Regions from separate parts of the Homo sapiens genome. Here regions 1, 3 and 4 are each linked to region 2. Evidence: promoter capture Hi-C in 16 types of primary human blood cells and fetal thymus (Javierre and others, 2016). All regions are on one chromosome and are shown on one strand. The core of a region is centred on a gene start or on the middle of the fragment in contact, and the rest is flanking DNA. Distances in the headings are between cores, read along the strand shown. Region 1 overlaps CD163L1 (CD163 molecule like 1). Region 2 holds the start of ACSM4 (acyl-CoA synthetase medium chain family member 4). Region 3 has its middle 13 kb from the start of CD163L1. Region 4 overlaps CD163 (CD163 molecule).

Region 1 (5,374 bases), core at 2,784-5,283, 130 kb after region 2:
ATTCTGCTGCTGATGTTCCTTTCACAGATCCCAGGTAGCTGGAAGAAATAAATAAATTATGTTTGCAGATTTAAGTAATCCAATCAAACTAGTCTATAGGCATCAATACCAAAGTAAAAATATAAATAACAAATTATTTAATCCGAGTTTCTTCTACAAAAACTGACTTTTAAAAATGTAATTATATATACAATATTGTGTTATGTGCCAAAATTGTTGAACATAATCAGAAGATATGTGTAGCAAAGTTTAATAAACAAGAAAAAACTATGTAAAATAAAGGGTATTATCTCAAATTTGAAATTGTAACTGAATACTTTTATCTTCCTCATTTCGTCATAAAGTTTTTCAAACCATGTAACAATTAAAACATATTTTAGGTTAAATAATAGAATTCTTAGGGGCTATTATGACATTTAAAAATAAAAATAAAATGTCCACCTCAGTAGGCATTACTGGAAATAATCAAAAATGTTTTAAGAATTTCCTTGGATTTGTCTTTATAGAAAATTTGTAAACCACAAAAACATATCCGTCCAGATTCCTCTAAAATCTCCCAAGATTTTATCAATTGCAAAGGCCTCAAGCACTACTGATATGCTGATACTAAATTTATATCTCTAATTCATACATTTCTTCTGAGAATTTCCAGTGGGAATATCCACCTACATATCTTCCAAGTCCCTCAAAAATGTTCCAACACTCTTAGCATCTTTCTTTTAAATGGTACTACTAGCTACAAGGCTGTACCCATAAGAAATTTGGGAAAAATTCTTACCCTTCTTTCTTTCTCACCTCTTTTTTCACTTCTCTTGGTACTATCAAAGCTGCTGTGTAAATATAACTCCAATCCATCCACTTATCTCTATCTTAACTATTTTAGCCCTAGTCAAACCACTATCATGTCTTACCTGACCTCCTTCAGGGTCTTCTTAACTTCTGTCTCTGCATCCAAGCTTGGCTCTCAAAAGCTATTCTTCATTCAGTTAGTCCACATGATATTTTAATAATCAAATTTTATCATGGTAATTATCTGCATAAAACCCTTCAAAGAATACCCTTGCCTATTAAAATAAAGTCTAAAACTCTTGCCATAGCTCCCCAGTCTGAGTACCAGCCCTCAGCTTCATCAACTATCACTCAACCTTCCTCATTAAGTTATAGCTACTCCAGTGTTTTCTCTACCCTTGGAGGCCACCAAGTCCTTTCTTACTTCAGGAGAATTGGGTTTCTCCTTTTGAAATACTGTTTATTGAAAAACTGCTTTTAACACCTCAGATTTCAGTAAAGCCAATTCTAAAGACTTACATTAAGTGAGTCATCCTATTAAATAATCTGATACTAATTTGTATCTTTATTTCAAAACATTTATTGGAGTTTACAAACCTGTAGATGTTTGTAGAAGAAAAAATAGAAGAAATTAGAAGACTTTACAGAAGGTTCTAAGTACTCTTCCTGACTTTGAACTACTCCAAGACTTTAAGTTCTTTCAGATTATTCACTTGTTGTAAGAACTCTGTCAGCCAGTAAGAGACAGATCACTTAGAAATTAAAGAACTTTGTATCTTCCTGAAATTCCAAACATAAAAAAATGATAGGAATTGGATTTTAAGAATAAGAACAAAGATTTATCATATTTTCTATGCCTCTTCCACCTCTCCGAGTTTCTAATAAATTAACCAGTTAAAACATAAACATGTATAGATCACCTAAAATTGCTGAAAACTGTGCTAATTGTTAGGAATACATAAGTTTAAAATAATTCCCATCCCTCTGGTATTAGCATATTTGAGAGAAGGCGGGAAATTAAATAACTAAAATGTTATTAACACATGAAGAATGAGGACAGAGTGCCATCATAGCATATGAATAGGATATGTTTATATTTGGGGAAGGCTTCCCTGAGGAAATGCTCTTTAAGATGATGTTAATGGATAACCAAATTTAGCCAAGAGAAATGAAGGAGGAAGAGTTTTTTTCTACCTAGAGGAACAGAATGTCTCAATGTTCTGAGGTGGGTTGGAAAATATCACGTACATGAAAGAACGCAGCAGAGATCAAGCAGAAAAGAGGAGAGAGTAGCAACATCTCGTAGATAATAAGAAATTTCCTATATTACTATAAAGTCAACTAAACGTGCTGCAAAAAACATCACTTCAGCTGCACTGTGGAAAATGGATTTGAAGGTGTTTGAAATGACTACAGAGAGGTCACTGGGGAGAGGTCGTTGCTTTCCGTAGTGACTTCTTAGAGGTGGTAAGTGATTGTTGCTTGGTTTATACTGATAGTAATGGAAATGGTGAAAAGAAGCCGCATTCTTCAGCCGGGTGCGGTGGCTCACGGCTGTAATCCCTGCACTTTGGGAGGCTGAGGCGGGCAGATCACAAGATCAGGAGATCAAGACCAGCCTGGCCAATATGGTGAAACACCACCTCTATTAAAAATACTGTAGCCGGGCGTGGTTGCGGGTGCCTGCAGTTCCAGATACTCAGGAAGCTGAGGCAGAAGAATAGCTCGAACCCAGGAGGTGGAGGTTGCAGTGAGCCGAGATCATGCCACTACACTCCAGCCTGGGCAACAGCCTGGGTGACAGAATGAGACTCCATCCAAAAAAAAAAGATGAAGAAGGCACATTTTAAAATATTTAAATAGTATAATCATTTCCATCTGGTGATGTAATGAATATAGTGTGCTAACAGAGAAATGAAGGACTTAAAAGTGATCCCCTAGTTGAACAACGAGAACGCATAGACACAGGGCAGGGAACATCACACACCAGGGCCCGTTGGGGGGTGGGGGGCTGGGGGAGGGATAACATTAGGAGAAATACCTATGCATATGACGAGTTGATGGGTGCAGCAAACCAACATGGCACATGTATACCTATGTAACAAACCTGCATGTTGTGCACTTGTACCCTAGAACTTAAAGTATAAAAAAAAAAGTGATCCCTTATTTCTGACTTGAATAATGAAGTGGGTAATAATGCTATTTACTGAGCTTAGGAAGATTAGATGATGAGTAAACAGGTATAAGAAGCTTACTTTTGGAAACATTAAGGTTCGGGTACATTTTGGACCCTTCGTAGCACACGGATATATGTATCTAGAGCTCTTAGGAGGTGTCTGGTGTGGAATTTTAGTTGAAGCTAGGAAAGTAAATTGCCAAAGGAAAGAGGGCAGCGTGAGATTAGGGACTTAGTCCTGATGAAATCTAAGTTTTGGTAGCTGGAAAGAATTAGTAAAGTGGGGAAACTAGACTAAGAATGAGTGACCTCAGAGAAAGAAGGGAAAAATATGATATTGTGTCAAGAAGTTATTTGAAAAAGGTTTTTAGAAAAAAGATTTGATCGGCCTATGGAATACTGCTGAGTGATCAGAAATATTAAAACTCAAAATGTGCTTTAGATTTGTTAGGAAGAGCAGTTTTAGGAAGAGTGTTTAGGAAAACTCCAGAATGGAGCAATTTCAGGGTAACAAAAATGTGTTATAACCAGAGAAAATTCTTCTCCAGAGAATGATTGACCTTTTTCTTTCCATACATACTGTTTCTAAACAAATTGTTCCTTTCTTCTACATGATGTCTTGGGTTCTTACCATAACAAGTTAATGTGACATCCTCATTGTGACTGCAGTCATGATTTCCCCATCCACGATGTCTGCAATTCCAGAGTGCCAACTCATTCCCCTGGCATAAAATGTCATCCAGCCAAATGGGGCGCAATACAGCAGGGCTATTAACAACTCCAGAAGAAATAAAAGAAGATGGACATCCTAGTTGCCTGCACACCACGGCAGCAGTATTCAAGTTCCACCCATCATCACATATAGTTCCCCACCTTTCTTGGAATTTCACCTCCACTCTCCCTGAACAGGAGTTGTTTCCATCCACTAGCCTCAAACCCAGATTGGCTTCACCTACGAGAAAGACAAGCAGACATATGAAAAACTGATTCAACTTTGAGCCTGAAATAAAATCAAAAGGATACGTAGAAGACAGCCCTGTTATGAATGAAGTTACCAAAAATTAAAAAAAAATAACTGAAAATACTTATAGGAGGGGTATGTGAGGCTTTTTTCTAAACACAAATACACAAACAAAAAAAATCCTAGGTGAAAAAATCAATCATTAGCATGATATTCTTTATCATTTTGCTTTAATTTTATACCTCATTTTTCAGAAAATATTTGTTCTGTTAGTGTACCTGGTACATGAAAAAAGGCACTTAAATCAAAGCTAACCCTGCTCCCAAACTTCTTCATTTCTTTCTAAACTCAATTATAGTTATGATAAAGATATTACATTGGTAACTGTAATGCATTCTCTCTCTGTCTCTCTCTTTCTCTCTCCATTTCTTTCTAAACTCAGTTATAGTTATAAAAAGAAAAGCAATTAGACATTACTTTGGAAATAAGGGAAGGGTAGAATATATAAAATATTTCCTACACCTCCCAGAGGGACACTATTAAAGTCATAATAGAAACCCCTACCTTCCAGCAGATGATTCCTGAGGGTAGGTCTTACCTTGCCTTCCTACTCTAGTTAGACTCTTACCATAACAGTTCACACCAACATCTTCTCCATGATAACAGTTATGGCTTCCCCATTCCCGGTGTTGACATTCCCAGAGAGCTGACTCATTTCCATAACAGGAAACATCATCAAGCCAAATTTTTCCATGTCTAGTCACGGCTTGTCCAAAACGAAACATGGCGAAAGAAAATGGACATCCAAGCTGTTTGCACACGACAGTTGAGGCAGTAGTGTTCCACCCATCATCACACACAGTCCCCCACTGTCCCTGGAATTTCACCTCCACTGTCCCAGAGCAGGGACCGTCTCCATTGACCAGCCTCAACTCCAAATCTGTTCCATCTGCAAGAAAGACAGAAACATACATTAGAGATGGCAAAGATTAGAAGGCAGAAATAATATAAGTAGGTGAGATGGATGATGATCATTTAGTTTAAATGTTGTTATTAGAACTTATAGTAGAGAGAAAATAAAAATGAGAAAATTTGAAGTGAGAAGCTTTAATTTTTCATGATAGGGAACTAGAGACCACATTGCAGCATAGTTTTGCTTTGCATTGTAATGTGAAAATTAAAAGAAGGGAAAGAATTTTTTCTTTCTATGCAATTCCCACCAATATAAACCACAGAAAAGGTAAGGTTTGCTGTTGTGCACGCAGAATGAAAGAAAGTCCCTTGGCTAGTCAGTTTCAAAATAATCTGTATCTGAGGAGTCCACCTCACATTTTTGAAGGAGATGTTTTATATACTTAATAATTGAAAACATCTTGTAAGGTTGACATAATAATTTTCTACTCAATAAAATCTACAGCATTAAATACTTTTGAGTATTTATATCCTCA
Region 2 (5,690 bases), core at 1,967-4,466:
TCAAAAGCAGATCAAAGAGATAAAAAAGAAGTAATGTTGGCAAACAGATTTTAAAGTTTAATTGAAAAATTATACTTTATAATATCTTAATTTATATTTTGTTGGCAAAAAGATCTTAAAGTTTAATTGAAAAATTCTACTTTATAATATCTGAATTTATATTTTATTACTAACTAATCATTAGGTTTGCATATGCAATATCTTTCACTCTGTTTATATATACAACACAGGAAATGCTGAAATGTATATTCAGATCTGATCTGTTTACATTTAGTTTTAGATTTGTTGGTATGTTAATTGGGTGTTTTATTATGATTTAGAAAATTTGTCCATGGAAGCAAGGAATAAAAGAGCAATTCATAAAAAATCATTTTTCAATTCAGAGGGGATGGAGAGGAGATTTGCATTAAAAACTATCCACTATATTCTCTGCACTATTTTTCTTAGGAAGCAAGAATGTTCCAGGTTCCCCCATCTTGGAAGTTTTTCCACTTCATCATTAAACTGAGACCAAGAAAGGACAAGATAATGGAAGTGAAAGCTAAACTGCTTCAGACTGATGGAGGCTCAGGTCAGCCCCAAGAGCTTGGAGCACAGTGACAGGACATTATAAGAGGCAGAAACAAGATAACTTAGCAGCTCCAATCCAATAGCTTTTCTTTGCTGTTGTTGTTTGAGACGGAGTCTCACTCTGTCACCCCGGCTGGGGTGCACTGGTGCAATCTTGTTTCACTGCAACCTCTGCCTCCCACGTTCAAGCGAAGTCTCCTGCCTCAGCTTTCTGAGTAGCTGGGATTACAGGAACGCAGCACCACGCCCAGCTAATTTTTGTACTTTTAGTAGAAATGGGGTTTCACCATGTTGGCCAGGCTGGTCTCGAACTCCTGACCTCAAGTGATCTGGCCACCTCGGCCTCCCAAAATGCTGGGATTATAGGTGTGAGCCACTACATCTGGCCTTCCAAACCAACAGCTTTTCTAGGTTTCTTTATATATCAAGAGCTGAAGTCTTCTGTCACAAATGCTTCTGAGGTTTTATTTTTAATATGCAGCATTTATTCATTCCTAGCCACAAACCATGCACTGTGCTAACGTACTCACTAAAACCTTGCAACTACCTAGTGAAGAAGGTATTATTACTCTCATTGCACAGATGCAAATGAGACTTGGAGATGTTAAGCAACTTGACAAAGGTCATCCAGAGAAGCAAGTTTGGATGCAAGTGTGGTGCAAGTGGTATGTGTGTGTGTGTGCATGTGTGTGTGCACGTCTGTGTTTTAGGAGAGGGATGAGAGTCTCACTTTTGGCAGAATGCTAAACCATGAATGTGGTCCACTCTGCTTCTCTTTTCTCCCTTTTCTTTACTCTTGATAATTGCCCAGTTAAGGCGCTATCCCTCTTCTTTTTTTACCTTGGCATAACAGAGAGTTTAACACCAACGGTATTGCCAGCAATAGCTATTTTTGAAATACAGCAAATTGTGTTTGCACCAAATGGACCTGCCACTTATCCAGAAGTCACTCTGAGCAGCACAGAGGACTTGGCAACAACAATGAAGGATGGCACACCCTGCACCCTCCTTTCTATTGTTTGTTATCACCATGCTGCAGACTCAGGTACTCTTTACATTTGCAGATTCTTCCACTCCATTCAAAACAACTACACAAGCCTGAAGGGCAAAAAGGGTGAAGGCATTCACCATCAACAAGAAACCTTTATCGAAGAAGGCAGCACAAGGGAGAATAAATAGCAGAGAAGCTGAGTAGGTTAAGTTCTGAAGTCAGACCAGAGAGGTTCAAACCTTGCCTCTGGTTGCGTCATTGAGCTCATGGTGGCAGAGGCAAGACATGGTTTGTCTCGAGCTGAATGACCTTGGATAAGATCCTTAAGTGTACTTAAACCTCAGTGTCTTCATCTGTAAGATAGAGATAATAATAGCACCAACCTCACAAGCTTGTCATGAATATTGAATGACATCAGAAATGCAAAGTGCCTGCCTACATCAAGAACCTAAAAACTGCCTTTTATTATTGCAGATCTTCTGTGAGTCATGCTTAGTGCTAAGAACACATTACATAGCCTCAACCCATACCGGCTGGGTAGGGAGACAGGGCACATATATGAAAAACTATCATTGATAATACAAAGTAGACAACTGTCACATGAATAGCATAAATGCATGTTACGGAAAACCCAGGGAAGAAATAAACACAAAATTATTTAAAAAATTAATTAGATTACAGATGGTAGTCCAGAAAGAGCAGGCAATTTTACCAATATTAAAAGCAGTTTTTGAAAAAGAAATAAAATCCAAGTCTTCTGGTTCATATGGTAGGATTTTTTAAAATAAAACTATGCCACAATAATATTAAGGAAAATAATCTTAACAACAGCAGTGGTTGCCTGGGTGCAGTGGCTCATACCTACAATCCCAGCACTTTGGGAGGCCAAGGCAGGAAGATTACTTGAGGCTAGGAGTTGGAGGCAAGCCAGCCTGGGTGACATAGTGAGGCCATATCTCTACAAAAAAAAAAAAAAAAAAATTAGCAAGGCATGGTGGTGTGGCCCCTGTAGTCCTAGATGCTCAGGATGCTTAGTCAGGGGGATTGCTTAAGCCTAGGAGTTTGAGGCTTCAGTAAGCTGTGATTGCGCCAACCTGGGTGAAAGAGCAAGACCTTGTTTCTTAATAAACAACAAACAAACAGAAAAACAAAAAAACAACAGTAGTAATTAACACTTTGAAGTCACCTTTTACGAGCTAGGCATTTTATACACATTATCTTATTAAATCCTCACAATAACTGTAGGAGGGAGGTACTATATTTTCCCCTATTTTACAGATGAGAAAATTGAGGTGCAGGAAGATAAGTAACTTGTCCAAAGTCCTACAGCCGGAAAGTGGCTGAACCAGGACTTAAACCCAGGTTTCCAAGCAATCACAATGGGAAGTTGAAGGGGAGAGGAGAACAGGGTAAGCAGGAGCCAGGGAAATGACAGGCCAACTCTTAGTGGGGCATTCATGGCAAGTTAACGGGCCTCCTTTACTGGAAGAGGAAATTCAAGTAGAGGAGTTAGCAGACACAGAACAGTGTATAAAGCAGGCGAAAGGAGGCTCTGAATGCCAGTCCAGACAGCGAAGTTTCTATTTGTCTGTTGTTTGGTTGGGGAGAAGACAGGAACAGAAGACAGGAGTCTGACAATTCTGTAGTTAAGGGGTTTTTTTAGACTCATCTGGTCACAGACAGAATGAAGAGGAAGGGTCCAGTGGCAGGGAGACCAGTCAGTGGCTAAGGCAGCAGCTCTGAGGAAGGATGAGGTGTTTTTCAGGTGTTCCCCAACTTGCCAGGGACACACAGCCACAAATCCACCTCCCAGTCTCACCACAGAGCATCAAGAAACTGATACTCTCTATCCATCTCTCCCTACAGGCTGTAGTACTTCTGTGTCCATAGCAGTAGACAAAGTCCTTTGGGAACCATGAAGATTTTTTTCCGCTACCAGACATTTAGATTCATCTGGCTCACCAAGCCACCTGGCCGGCGCTTACACAAAGATCACCAGCTTTGGACGCCTCTGACTCTTGCTGACTTTGAAGCCATAAATCGCTGTAACAGGCCATTGCCTAAAAACTTTAACTTTGCTGCAGATGTGCTGGACCAGTGGTCCCAAAAGGAGAAGGTATATGACGATGGGCTTCCAGTAGATGCTTGGTGTCCCCTTATCTCTCAGTCTTCCATTTCCTTGTTCTGTGGTCTACCACTTAATTCCAATGCACTCTCTCACCCTCTTGGTTTCCTTTGTTTGTTTTCCAATTGCCCTCCCCTCTCCCCAGGGAAGATCTTAGATCCTCAGCCACAAATGGCTGGGCGGCTCTGGAGCCTTCTCTATCTCCCATCCCCATGGTCGTTCCTCACAGAGTTCTGCCTCTTTTCCTTCTCTTTTCTCCAAGCCCCATGCAACAGTGCTTTGTTTTCAAGTTGGTCACAGGCTTATCGAAAAAGTAGCAAATTGAGTTTTGATTTTATGAATACAGTTATCATTGGAGTAATGAGGAGAGAATTGGAGGTTGACAAGAATAAAGCAAGCGGCCCTTATGCAATGTTTACAGTGCAGCCTCAGGATGAGGTCTCTGTGTACTGATCCTCACCCCATGCCAGGCACTGAGCTAAACACTTAACCAAGCAGTGCTTATCAAAATGCACTGCAGGACCATGGATGGGAACATGATGTTAGGTACTAGACAGACAAGGTATTAAATAACATTGAATCAATTCTTCCTGTTAAATACAGGGGGAAAGCCTTCCTTGAAAGCCATTGTGTCTTTAGCACCTATCATTTGCTAAACACTCTCTTGAATAAAGACCACAGGTAGAAGCTAATCATCTCTAGATAAAATTTAATGGCATAGTTTTGTTTTCAGCATATTTATTTTTCAATAACCTATTTTTTGGCAAGTGGTAATAATTGTCCAATAATGGTGCTGATTAAATATATATTCCTTCTTAAGTAAATGTATACACGTAAAAAGTAAAAAGTGAGTCCATGTAGCGAAGTATACAAAATAAAGAAGAATAGTGCAGGTGCAGGCAGAGCTGACAGAAACAATGAGACTTAAATGACTAAAGATTGAGAAATACTGACCTATATTATTTCACCAAATCCCCATAACAACCTGGGAGGTTTGCAGATGAGGAACTTGACCTCATAGAAGCTAAGCTACTTATCCAAGGCCACACAGGTCCAACAGAACATAAACCCAGTCCCTGATCTTTACAGAGGTTACATCCACAGGGAAGAGACACATCTGTCATATAATAAATTGGAGTCATCTGGAGTATGAGCACAACGATGAAGGAACACAGAGAAGTTAGTGGAGAAACAAAGAGAAGTCTAAGAAAAGCTCACAGACGAACTGACATGTCAACAGGGCTTTAAAGTATTTGCCAGCCAGAGAAGATAAAAGAAGCATTCCAGATAGGGGAAAGAAGGGAGAGTAATTTTTTTCCAGGTAATACATAAGGCAAAGAGGTTTTGCAGTACAGATGACTCACTTTATAGAATGATGGGGAAGAAGTTACCTCTAGAAGTCAATAAATTGATGCCTCCCTCGACCCTGCTCCTTGTGACTTGTGAAAACCACACCTCAGCCTTAGGGTACAAAGAGATGTCTGCTTCCCAGTCAAACTTAGCAGATCCATTCAGGTTATTTGGATGGGAAAGAATCTAATTTAAGCAAGAAAGAAATTTATTCAAGGAATATGGGAGAGCTCACAAAATTGGGCTGGAAGCTGGAGAGTCCATCTCAATGAGGACAGGAATCAGGACAGCTCTCTGAGCATGCGTAAGCACGAATAACCCATAGACAAGTTTTGTACCAACCATTTTCTATCTTTTGATTTCTCTCAGAAAACCAAAAAGTCCAGAGAGAGAAGGTCTGATTGGCCCAACTTTGGTCAAATGCCCACCTACTGCTCGGGGAAGGGTAAAAGCAACCTGAGGGATTCTCTTTTCAAGGCTGTGTTCAATAGGAGAGGGGCAGTTCCCTCAAAGACGAACTCAGGGCGCTGTTAGCAGAATGCACCAGAACCAGTGCCAAAGGGGGAAAACAGCAGATGCCGCATGTAAGAGTAATCAGTCATGTAAACCTACCCCTCTCTTTTCCATGTGTCCCTGGTCAGACAGGGGAGAGAC
Region 3 (5,297 bases), core at 89-2,588, 150 kb after region 2:
TTTTTTTTTTTTTTTTTTTTTGAGACGGAGTCTTGCTCTTTCACCCAGGCTGGAGTGCAGTGGCTCTATCTCGGCTCACTGCAAGCTCCACCTCCCGGGTTCATGCAATTCTCCTGCCTCAGCCTCCTGAGTAGCTGGGACTACAGGCGCCCGCCACCGCGCCTGGCTAATTTTTTGTATTTTTAGTAGAGACGGGGTTTCACCGTGTTAGCCAGGATGGTCTCGATCTCCTGACCTCGTGATCCGCCCACCTCGGCCTCCCAAAGTGCTGGGATTACAGGCGTGAGCCACTGCGCCCTGCCGTAAATTTTTTATATCTTTATTTAGTAAGATAGTTGAAAGACAAAATGAATAAAATAATAATAGCTCCAATAATTTGTTAAGAGGTACACAATGTAAAAAGATGTAAATTATGACATCAAAAACATAAAATGCATTGAGCAGCAGAAAATCTTGTTTTTTATGCAATCAAAGTTACATTGTTGTCAGCTTAAAAATATCCTATTATAACTATTAGGTATTTTATATACGCCTCATGGTAATTACAAAGCAAAATCCCATAGTAGATACCCCCCAAAAAAAAGTAACAAATCAGAACCAATGCAGTGGTACATGACTGTAGTTCCAGTTACTTGGGAGGCCAAGGCAGGAGGGTCACTTGAGTCTAGAAGCTTGAGGCTATAGTGTACTATAATCACGCCTGTAAATAGCTACTGCATTCCAGCCTGGGCAACATAGTGAGACCCCCTGTCTATTTTTAAAAAGAGTAAATCAAAGCATAATGACAAACGAAGACAGCAAGCAAGAAAGTAACAAAAGATCTACAAAACAACCAGCAAATAATTAACAAAATGGCAGTAGTAAGACCTTACTTATTAATAATTACTTTGAATGTAAATGGATTAAATTCTGTAATCAAAAGACAGGCTGAATAGATTAAAAAACAGGACTCAGCTATACACTGACTATGAGCAACTCACTTTAAAATTAAGGACACACATAGGATGAGAGTGAAATGCTGGGAAAAGTTAATCCATGCAAATGGAAACTAAAACAGGGCAGAGGTAGCTATACCTATATCAGACAAAATAAACTTTAAATTAAAAAGTGTAAAAGGGGCAGGCGCGGTGGCTCATGCCCATAATCCTAACACTCTGGGAGGCTGAGGCGGGTGGATCACCTCAGGTCAGGAGTTTGAGGCCAGCCTGGTCAACATGGCGAAATTCCGTCTCTACTAAAAATACAAAAATTAGCCAGGCGCAGTGGTGGGCACTTGTAATTCCAGCTACTAGGGAGGCTGAGGCAGGAGAATCGCTTGAACCCAGGAGGCAGAAGTTGCAGTGAGTGGAGATTGTGCCACTGCACTCCAGCCTGGGCGACAGAGCCAGACTCTGGCTCAAAAAAAAAAAAAAAAAAGGAAAAGGAGAAAGAAACTTTAAAAGGAAGAAAAAAAAGAAGGTCATTATATAATGCTAAAGGGGTCAATTCATCAAGAGGATATAACAATTGTAAATCTATATGCATCTGACATAGGAGAACCTAAACATATAAAGTAAATATTAATAGATCTGAAGGGAGAGATAGAATATAATACAGTAAATATTAGGGGACTTAAATATTCAACTTTCAGCAGTTGTCAAATTATTCAAACAGAAAATCAATAAGGGAACATCAGATTAAACTACACTTAATAGACATATACAAAGCATTCTATCCAACAGCAGCAGAATAAATATTTTTATCAAGCACACATGGAACATTCTCCAGTATTGATCACATGTTAGGTCACAAAACAAGTCTAAACAAATTTAGCAAGACTAAAATTACATCAAGTCTCTTTTCCAAACATAATACTATTAAATAGAAATCAGTAACAAAAACATTGAAAAAATTCACAAATATATGGAAATTAATCGAATGTTTCTGAACAACAAATGGGTCAAAGAAGAAATTAAAAGGTAAATCAAAAAGTATTTAGAGACAAATGAAAATGGAAATAACATATCAAAGCTTATAGGATGCAACAAATGTAGTTCTACGAGGGAAGTTTACAGCATTAAACATTTACATAAAAAAAAATCTCCAATAAGCAACCTAATGCTATAACTCAAGGAACTAGAAAAAGAAAAACAAACTAACCCTAAAGCTAAGTACAAAAAGGAAAGAATAAATAACAGAGCAGAAGTAAACCAAACAGACTAGAAAAGCAAAACAAAAGACTGAAAAAATTAAGTTGGTTTTTAAAAAGATAGACAAATTTGACAAACATTTACCTAGACTAAGAAGAAAAGAGAGAACACTCAAATAAATAAAATCAGGTATGAAAAAGGAGACATTACAACTGATGTCCCATAAATACTAAGGACCACAAGAGACTACTATAACCAATTACATACCAAAAAATTGGACAACCTAGAAGAAATGAATGCATTCCTAGATATGTACAACCCAATCAAGGCTGAATCAAGAAAAAATAGAAAAACTGAACAGACTAATAATGAGTAAGAAAATTGAATTAATAATAAAATATCTTCTGTCAATGAAAATTCCAGAACCAGAGGGCTTCATGGTGAAATACTGCCAAACATTTAAAGAAGAAGAAAACTAACACCGCTTCTCTTCAGACTCTTCCAAAAAGTGGAAGTGGAGGAAAATTTTTCAAACCCATTTTACAATGTCAGCCATTACCCTGATGCAAAGCAAAACAAAAAACAAAAAACAAAAAACAAAACCCTATAAGAAAAGAAAATTACAGGCCAATATCTCTGATGAACATAGATGCAAATATCCTCAACAAAATACTAGCAACTGAATACAACACATTAATAGGATCATTCACGATGATTAAATGGGGTTTATCCCTGGGATGCAAGGATGGTTGAACATATCATGTCAACAAATGTGATACATGATAATAACAGAATGAAAGACAAAAACTATATGATCACCTCAATAGATGCAGTAAAATCATTTGACAAACAATATTTTTTCATGAGAAGAACTATTAGTAAATTAGATATTAAAAAATGTACTTCAACACAATAAAGGCCACATATGAAAACCCTACATGTAACATCATCGTGTTTTCAATGGTAAAAAGTTGAAAGTTTTTCCTCTAAGATCAGGAATACAAGGATGTTCACTCTCACCACATTTATTCAAGATAGTTATGGAAGTCTAGCCAGAGCAATGAGACAAGAGAAATAAATAGCATCCAAATAGAAAAAAAGTAAAACTGTTTCTGTTTGCCGATGACATTATCTTACATATAGAACATCCTAAAAAGGGCCAGGCGCAGTGGCTCACGCTGTAATCTCAGCACTTTGGGAAGCCGAGATGGGAGGATTGCTTGAGGCCAGGAGTTCAAAACTAGCCTGGGCAACATGGTGAAACCCTGTCTCAGCTAAAATTACAAAAATTAGCTGGGTGTGGTGGCGCATGCCTGTAATCCCAGCTACTCCAGAGGCTGAGGCATGAGAAATCGCTTGAGCCTGTGAGGCGGAGGTTGCAATGAGCTGAGATCTCACCACTGCACTCCAAGCGGGGCAACAGAGTGAGACTCTATCTCAAAAAAAACAAAAATCCACCAAAAACTATTCAAATTGATAAATTCAGTCAACTTGTAGAGTACAAAATTAGTACACAAAAATCAGTAACATTTCTCAGCACAAGCAACAAACTATTTGAAAAAGAAATCGGCCGGGTGTGGTGGCTCACGCCTGTAATCCCAGCACTTTGGGAGGCTGAGGCGGGCGGATCACGAGGTCAGGAGTTCGAGACTAGCCTGACCAACATGGCGAAACCCCATCTCTACTAAAAATACAAAAATTGGCCGGGCGTAGTGGCGTGTAGCTGTAATCCCAGCTACTCAGGAGGCTGAGGCAAGAGAACTGATTGAACCTGGGAGGCGAGGGTTGCAGTAAGCCAAGATCACGCCACTGCACTCCAGCCTGGGCAACAGAATGAGACTCTGTCTCAAAAAAAAAAAAAAAAGAAAGAAAAAGAAATTAAGAAACCAACCCCATTCACAATGCCATAAACAAAATAATGAAGAGTAACTTTAATCAAGGATGTGAAAAATCGATATATGGAAAACAATAACATTGATGAAAAATTGTAGACAACTTAAATAAATGCAGAGTTATCAAGTGTTCATAGGTTGGAAGAACTAATATCGTTAAAGTATCCATATTACCCAGAGCAATCTTCAGACTCAATGTGATCCCATCAAAATTTCACAGAAATAGAAACAATTCTAAAATTTGAATGGAACCACAAAAGACCTCCAATAGCCAAAGCAATCATGAGCAAAAATAAAAAAGCTAAAGGCATCATAGTACCTAACATCAAAATTGATCACAAAGCTATAGTAATTAAAACAGAGTGGTTCTGGCATAAAAACAGACACGTTGGTCAGAGGAACAGGACAGAGAGCCAAGAAATATGGTCAATTTACTTTTTATAAAGGTGCCAAGAACACACAATGGAGAAAGAATAGTCTCTGTATTAAATAGTTTTGGGGAACCTGGATATCCACAAGAATCATGAAATGTGACCCTTACCTAACACCATATACAAAAATAAACTCAAAATGGATTAAAGACTTTAATGGTTGGAGGTGGAGATATGGCCAAACAGAACCCTCCAGCAATTGTGCCCCTGCAGGAACACTAAATTGAACAAATATCCAAGCAAGAAAGCACATTTATAAGAACAAACAAAACAGAACAAACAGGTGAGAGGTCATGGTACCTGGTTTAAACATAATCACAAGGAAAGAGACACTGAAGAAGGTAGAAAGGACAGTCCTGCGTTGTCTACACTACCCAACCCCAGCCTCAGGCAACACAGCATGGAGGGAAAATCTGTGTGCTTAGGGGAAGAAGAGTGAAGTGAGTGTGAGACTTTGCATTGCAGCTCAGTGCCACCCTCTCACAGTGGAACTCAACACCAGGCAGCATTCTGCCAGTGCCCATTTGGACCAGCACTGGGCCAGAGGGGAATCCTTCATCCCAATGGAAGAAAACTGAGTCCCAGCCAGCTTCACCACTGGCTGACTACAATGGCTGGGACCTCTAATAAATTCAAGTGGCAGTCAGGCCACAGTGACGGCAGTCTTTGGGCAAGCCTTGGTGCTGTACTGGTCTTGGAGGCAGTGGGCTTGGAATATGACAGTGTGACACCAGCTGTGTGGCCATGGGAGTGCCTGCATCACCTCTCCCTCAACTCCAGACACTGCAGTATGTGGAGAGACTCCTTCCTTTTCGGGGAAGAAGATGGAGGAATATGGAGGACTT
Region 4 (5,440 bases), core at 636-3,135, 190 kb after region 2:
CCACTTTATCTCACCACAAATAATGGTAATAATGATAGCAGTGAATATTAAGTGAGCGTCTATTATATTACATATATGGCATTCCAATAAGCATTTAACAAACATTATTTCATTCAATCCTTAAAATTGCCTTAGGAGATAATTGTTAATATCATTCTGATTTTACAGACAGGGAATCTGAAACATAGAGAGGTGAGGTGTAGTAATTTGCTAAGGTCACACAAGAAATTACTACAGAATTAGTAAGAGAACAGAATTTGAAGCCAGACAGTATATTCCAGAGCCTAGAATGTTGACTTTCATGATACATTGAACATGTAGAAAACCACCATATCTGTTGGTCCTCCAGCATATTTCTTCTTCTGCATATTTGTTGCTATTGCCATAAAGTGATTTGTCATCATCTGTCATGCAGACCTCTACAATAGCTTCGTAAATTGTTTCCTTGCTTCAAAGTCTTTTTTCCAAGAAATTTATGCCATGATTATAAATATATTAATAAATTTCAAATATTTTCATGTGATGTTTTTCCTTTAGATGACTTAACGTTTCCTTAAAATGTATGCAATGATCCCTTACATAATTTCTTATAATTTCTGTAATAATCATGTATGCAATAATTAATCCAAAAGTATCAATGTAATGACCTATAATGTAACAACCTGTAATGTTCTCTGACTCTATTTTAGGCATTTGATGATGGGTGGGTTAAAAAGGCCGCCACAGAATTCAGTCTGTCAGTGAAGATAGATAATACTAAAAATAATAATCATAATCATATTAGCTAACATGTATTTATAGCTCACTGTGTAATTCCTGTGAGGTAGGCCCTATTACCACTCCCATTTTTCTTCTGAGCAAACTGCAGCACAAACAGTTTTCATAGATTCCCTAATTTCGTCCAGCTATTAAAATTAAGGAGAGGTGATAAACACTAATTCTTTAGTACACTTTAAAATAGTATGCTGTTACCTTAAAAGCTTTAATATCTATTACTTTATCAACCTAATTTGATGCTCCAGCCTAAAGATGCTTGGGCATGCCGTAATTTTCATGCTTCTGTGCCTCTGTAGAAACTTTTCTCTCTACTTAAAATTTATTTCCCTACCTTATATACCTAGGAAAAGGCTACTTCTTTTCAAGGCTGTTCAATTTCTCACTAATAGCCTTCTCCTCCATGAACACAGTTCACTACAAGATATACATATTTTAATAGTGATGAACCCAAAAATAGAAATATGTATTAGACATAAAACTAACAAATAAAGGAGTCATTCACTCTGTTTTAGACTATGGGGGAGAGAATAACATAGATCTAAACTGGATCTTGAAAAAAGATGAGGAGTTTGCCAAATACACAGTGTGTGAAACAATCTTTAAGGAATATGGTCACGAAATGCATGGTGTCATTGAAGAATTATAAGTAACTTACTGTAGCTGAAATTTAAAATATAAAGAAAAGACACACCAGAAATAATAAATGGAATTTATATTATGAAGATGCTCTTTGTCAAGTTAAGAAACACAATCATCAAGATAAGTGAGTTTCTTTGAAAATACTCAGAGGCAATATAAAGTACTTAAGAGATACAAACTATTTCTTTTAACTTGTTCTTTAAGAGAAATAAAGAAAATGCAGTTGAAAATTAGACCTTCTGAAGGTCTTAAGTCCTTTATAGATACCTGCTATCAAATATCAACAATTTTTGTAATCTCTTGATGTTACTATCACAATGATATAGATACACCATCAGCCCTTGCCAATCTACATACTCTGATTTCCTTTCATCTCTCATAAACCTTTCACCTGATACAAAAATGTCTTAGAAAATGTTTCGAATATGACCATGTTCTGTACTACAGCAATATAGAATACCTCAACATGTCAAAATTTCACCCATTATCCATTAAATCTGCGCAAAGCAAATTCCTATCCAAATTTGAAATGAAAAACATGTTGCTTTCTAAACATAGCTCAGAGTTTAAAGCAAATAACACCTCTACAATACAAATAATTAATGACCCTTGAGTGGGATGGTCTTTCATTTCTTCTTTTTGAATCTTTATTCAAGCATGAAATTTCTCTAAGATATCATTAACTAGTATTCATATGATCCCAACCTCTTTTGGACAGCCCTAAATCTTTAAGTAAAGGCAGTCTCCTAGATCAAGCCAAATTCTGGTTTCTTGTAACTTCTTACTCTTTCATTTGGACCCATCTTGAACAAAATAAACCAAAAGAAAACCAGTGAAAAACAAACAAACAAACAAACAAAAATATTTTCTTTTCCATTGTGAAAACTCATTAAGCAATTGAGAAAAAGTCCCTTCTATAAGTATCCTCTTGTTTTCTTTGTACTAACATATTTGAGTCAAGGCAGAGGACAAATTCTCCAACTCAGAAAGTGACTTGGAGACTCCATCCTCAGCCTTTATTTCGTGAATCTGCTAGTAACATGTTAATCTATCCTATGGGTCGCTTTGCTTATATCGTTACTCTTTAGACATGGATAGAATATTGGAAATGTATCCCTTTAATGGATTTTTTTCTGCTAAGTCTCTGACTGTGTTTTTACATAAAAACCATTAAGTAAATTTTTGCACCTGGATTTAGCACCATTGATCAACAACTACAGTTTTCCCCTGGCATAAGTAACTGAATCTGTTTTTCTTTCTTTTTCTAGAAAAATAAATAGATCTACAAAGAGCTTTAACATAATTAGAGACATAATTAACTAGAATTACTTCCTTTTGTTTAGTGATAAATAAAATATACAATTATGATTTAAAGAAGCTTTAATGTATTTTCAACATTTAATGCTTTTCAGACTCTGAAGAAGTATAGATCATCATAATCTCAGAATTATTTCTCCATCCTAAGTTAAAAGACAGCATAGCTCAAATGAACTGTTTCTTAAGGTCAGATGTCCTCTACAGTACATACACAGACATCACAAACAAAATGTCTGAGATTCAAAGTAATTTTGTGGCCAAAATTTCCTAGACCTTTTTCTGTCAACAATTTATCTTAAATTGTTTCCAATTCTCCTGCTTAGTTGAATTCTCCTGGTTCTTTTAAGCTGTATAGCCCTGTACTATATAAAAGTTAAACAATTTAAACAGATGATCAAATTCGTAGCTTGAATTTGGCAGGCACAGAGACAGCATATCATCATTGACAGAGACAGTATGTCATCATTGAAAGTATCAAGTAAATAAAGAAACAAAAGTACAAACTATATTACTAACAAAACATGTAAAAAGCTAAAAACCAAGGCCCCCAACATAAGTAGAAGAACTTCCAAAACCTACAGCAATATAACAAAAGAGTTTGTAAAAGGAAACAAAAAGTGCACATGGCAAATAGCAAACAAAAATACAGCTCTGTGAAGTACGGAGCCCACCTTAAGTTGCAAATTTATGTTATTCATGATTTCTATTATACACATCTGAATAGAATCCTGAATAATTTAGAACATGTTACCATAAGTAAGGTATTCTAGTAATGCAACCTAAAATATGGGTGTGGTTGAATGGAGTTGATGGGCAGAATGCATTAATGACTCAGGTGTGAGAGGCTAAAAACCTAAGGAGTCTTACACATGGTAAAATATTTGGGTAAGCCTCACTTTGAAAAGAAAACCGTGTGCTCACTGATGCTTAAAAAATGCAGAATTTATTGGGCAAAGTACAAGAAACAAAACTACAAAAAATCAGAATATTTGCATGACGTGGATTCTCCTTGCCACTTTTAGCATTTACAAGAAAGATGAATTCAGACTACAAGCAGTCAGAATGCAAGCAGAAATGGGAGGAGAAATATCAATTTTATAAGGGGGTATGGTCTGCCTGCAGGTGTTGTATATTGTTAATCAAGAGTCCTATAATTTGGAATTGAAGAATTGAAGAAAAAACTCTAAGTATCCTGTCCCCCCAAATTGAGGTGGTGGTAAAACTGTAGCCTTGTCAGAAGATAAAATTGATACTCCAGATACAAAGGCAATGAGTCTACCGGCAAAGACGGAATTTAGGTCTTGTCCTTCCTCCCAAACCCACAGTTTCAAACGGCCTTAAGGCAGTGGTCAATAATTAAAGAGAAGGGCTGGTCACAGCATAGATCAAAGTATATTTATATGCTCTTGGACTATAGTTACTTTCAGATGGCATTGGGTTATAAAGCAAGTAGACTAGAAGCTTAGTAACCTTGGAAAGAACTTTTTTGTTGAATTTGAGGGCAGCTGACATCAGCCCTTGATTAGTCAATCTTTAATCCAAAGGTCCCTAAACCAATATTAGCAGAAAGTGGGTTGTGAAAGGTGTGCTGTCCTTAGATAGAGATACTCTCCAAACCAAACTTGGATGTAACTGTGAAGAATAATGTGCCAGGAAGAACTGCCCTGAGAGCAACACTGGGGCCCATGAAGGACAGCGGACAGAAGACACCTTCTCAGAGGCCAGCACTTCGTCTACCAGATTGGCTTTCCAAGGAACTCACTGAGCTGCGGGGTGGCTTATCCTTCCTGTCCGGTAGGATTTGATACTTACTGCAGCAAATCTATTCTGGATGTTTCTTGGTGACAACAGAGACACCAAAACAGCCTTAAACTGCTTATCTATTTGACTAATTTTAAATGAGAAAAAGTGAACACTGTCTTTCTTCAGTCACTATTATTTGTTTCTCTTTTAGATACAGCAGAACTTAATGCTAATCAATGTAAAATACAATTAATAAGAAAATATACAAACCATTATAAATTTAGAAGGAAAATCTATAACCTAAAATATTTATATTAGTAAATCAGAAGAAATAAAACTTAAGATTCAACTCAAGAAGTTGGGGGCCAAAAAGAAATCAAACTTTAGGAAATCTGAAGAGAATTATTAGAAAGAAAAGTAAATTTTAATGAATTAGAAAGGAAATAAAAGTAACATTAATTTTTTAAAATCCAAATAATGGTTTTTTAAAAAAAAATTTAGGTAAAAGAATGGCTAACCTTGTCAGGTAAAAAATTAAAAGAATAAATGAATACACACGGTAATAAATTATAAGAAATGTTATAGATATGGAAGTAATTTCAGACAGCTCTTTAAATACTGATGTGAAATTTGATCAAGAAATTTTACTAAGTGAATACTTCAGGTACAAAACAATTTATACAACATGCCACCATTTGGATAATGAAAGCAAATGATAGCTATATATAGATTTGTTTGTATTTTCTTGTATTTACATGAAATATCTCAAATAATATATAAATATTCCAACCACATAAGTTGTCTGTGAGGAAAAGAATTGGATAGTAGTGGGGGAAGAGTTTACACTTTTTTATTTTGAAGTTTAAACCATGTGATTATATTGCCTGGTCCAGAATATTTTTTAAAAAGTAATATAGAAATTCAAATTTATATCTTAAATGATTGCCTTTTTTCAATCGGAGGA

The links. The method cuts DNA at HindIII sites, captures the fragments that hold promoters and counts their contacts. A CHiCAGO score of 5 or more calls a contact.
Region 1: a contact is called between a fragment that was not itself captured here and the fragment with the promoter of ACSM4 in region 2, in 1 of 17 cell types (M2 macrophages). The highest score is 5.4, in M2 macrophages.
Region 3: a contact is called between a fragment that was not itself captured here and the fragment with the promoter of ACSM4 in region 2, in 4 of 17 cell types (M1 macrophages, erythroblasts, M2 macrophages and 1 more). The highest score is 7.1, in M1 macrophages.
Region 4: a fragment that was not itself captured here is called in contact with the fragment with the promoter of ACSM4 in region 2 in 1 of 17 cell types (megakaryocytes); the score reaches 5.3 in megakaryocytes.

Annotation. Positions count from the first base shown.
Region 1 is chr12:7,428,820-7,434,193 of GRCh38, forward strand. It overlaps CD163L1 (CD163 molecule like 1), which reads right to left. Exons shown (of 20, transcript NM_174941.6): 3 at 4,555-4,875; 4 at 3,597-3,917. Among named protein-coding and RNA genes, the nearest start is that of CD163L1, 13 kb to the right of the region's middle. The HindIII fragment of the contact is 1,992 bases long and covers 3,038-5,029 here.
Region 2 is chr12:7,300,856-7,306,545 of GRCh38, forward strand. It overlaps ACSM4 (acyl-CoA synthetase medium chain family member 4), which reads left to right and starts at 3,217. Exons shown (of 13, transcript NM_001080454.2): 1 at 3,217-3,677; 2 at 5,678-5,690. The coding sequence starts at 3,477. The HindIII fragment of the contact is 4,163 bases long and covers 1,951-5,690 here.
Region 3 is chr12:7,454,992-7,460,288 of GRCh38, forward strand. No RefSeq gene overlaps it. Among named protein-coding and RNA genes, the nearest start is that of CD163L1, 13 kb to the left of the region's middle. The HindIII fragment of the contact is 1,339 bases long and covers 670-2,008 here.
Region 4 is chr12:7,488,882-7,494,321 of GRCh38, forward strand. The region is part of intron 6 of CD163 (CD163 molecule); the gene reads right to left. It overlaps LOC124902870 (a long non-coding RNA gene), which reads left to right and starts at 4,310. Exons shown (of 2, transcript XR_007063197.1): 1 at 4,310-4,527. The HindIII fragment of the contact is 1,814 bases long and covers 979-2,792 here.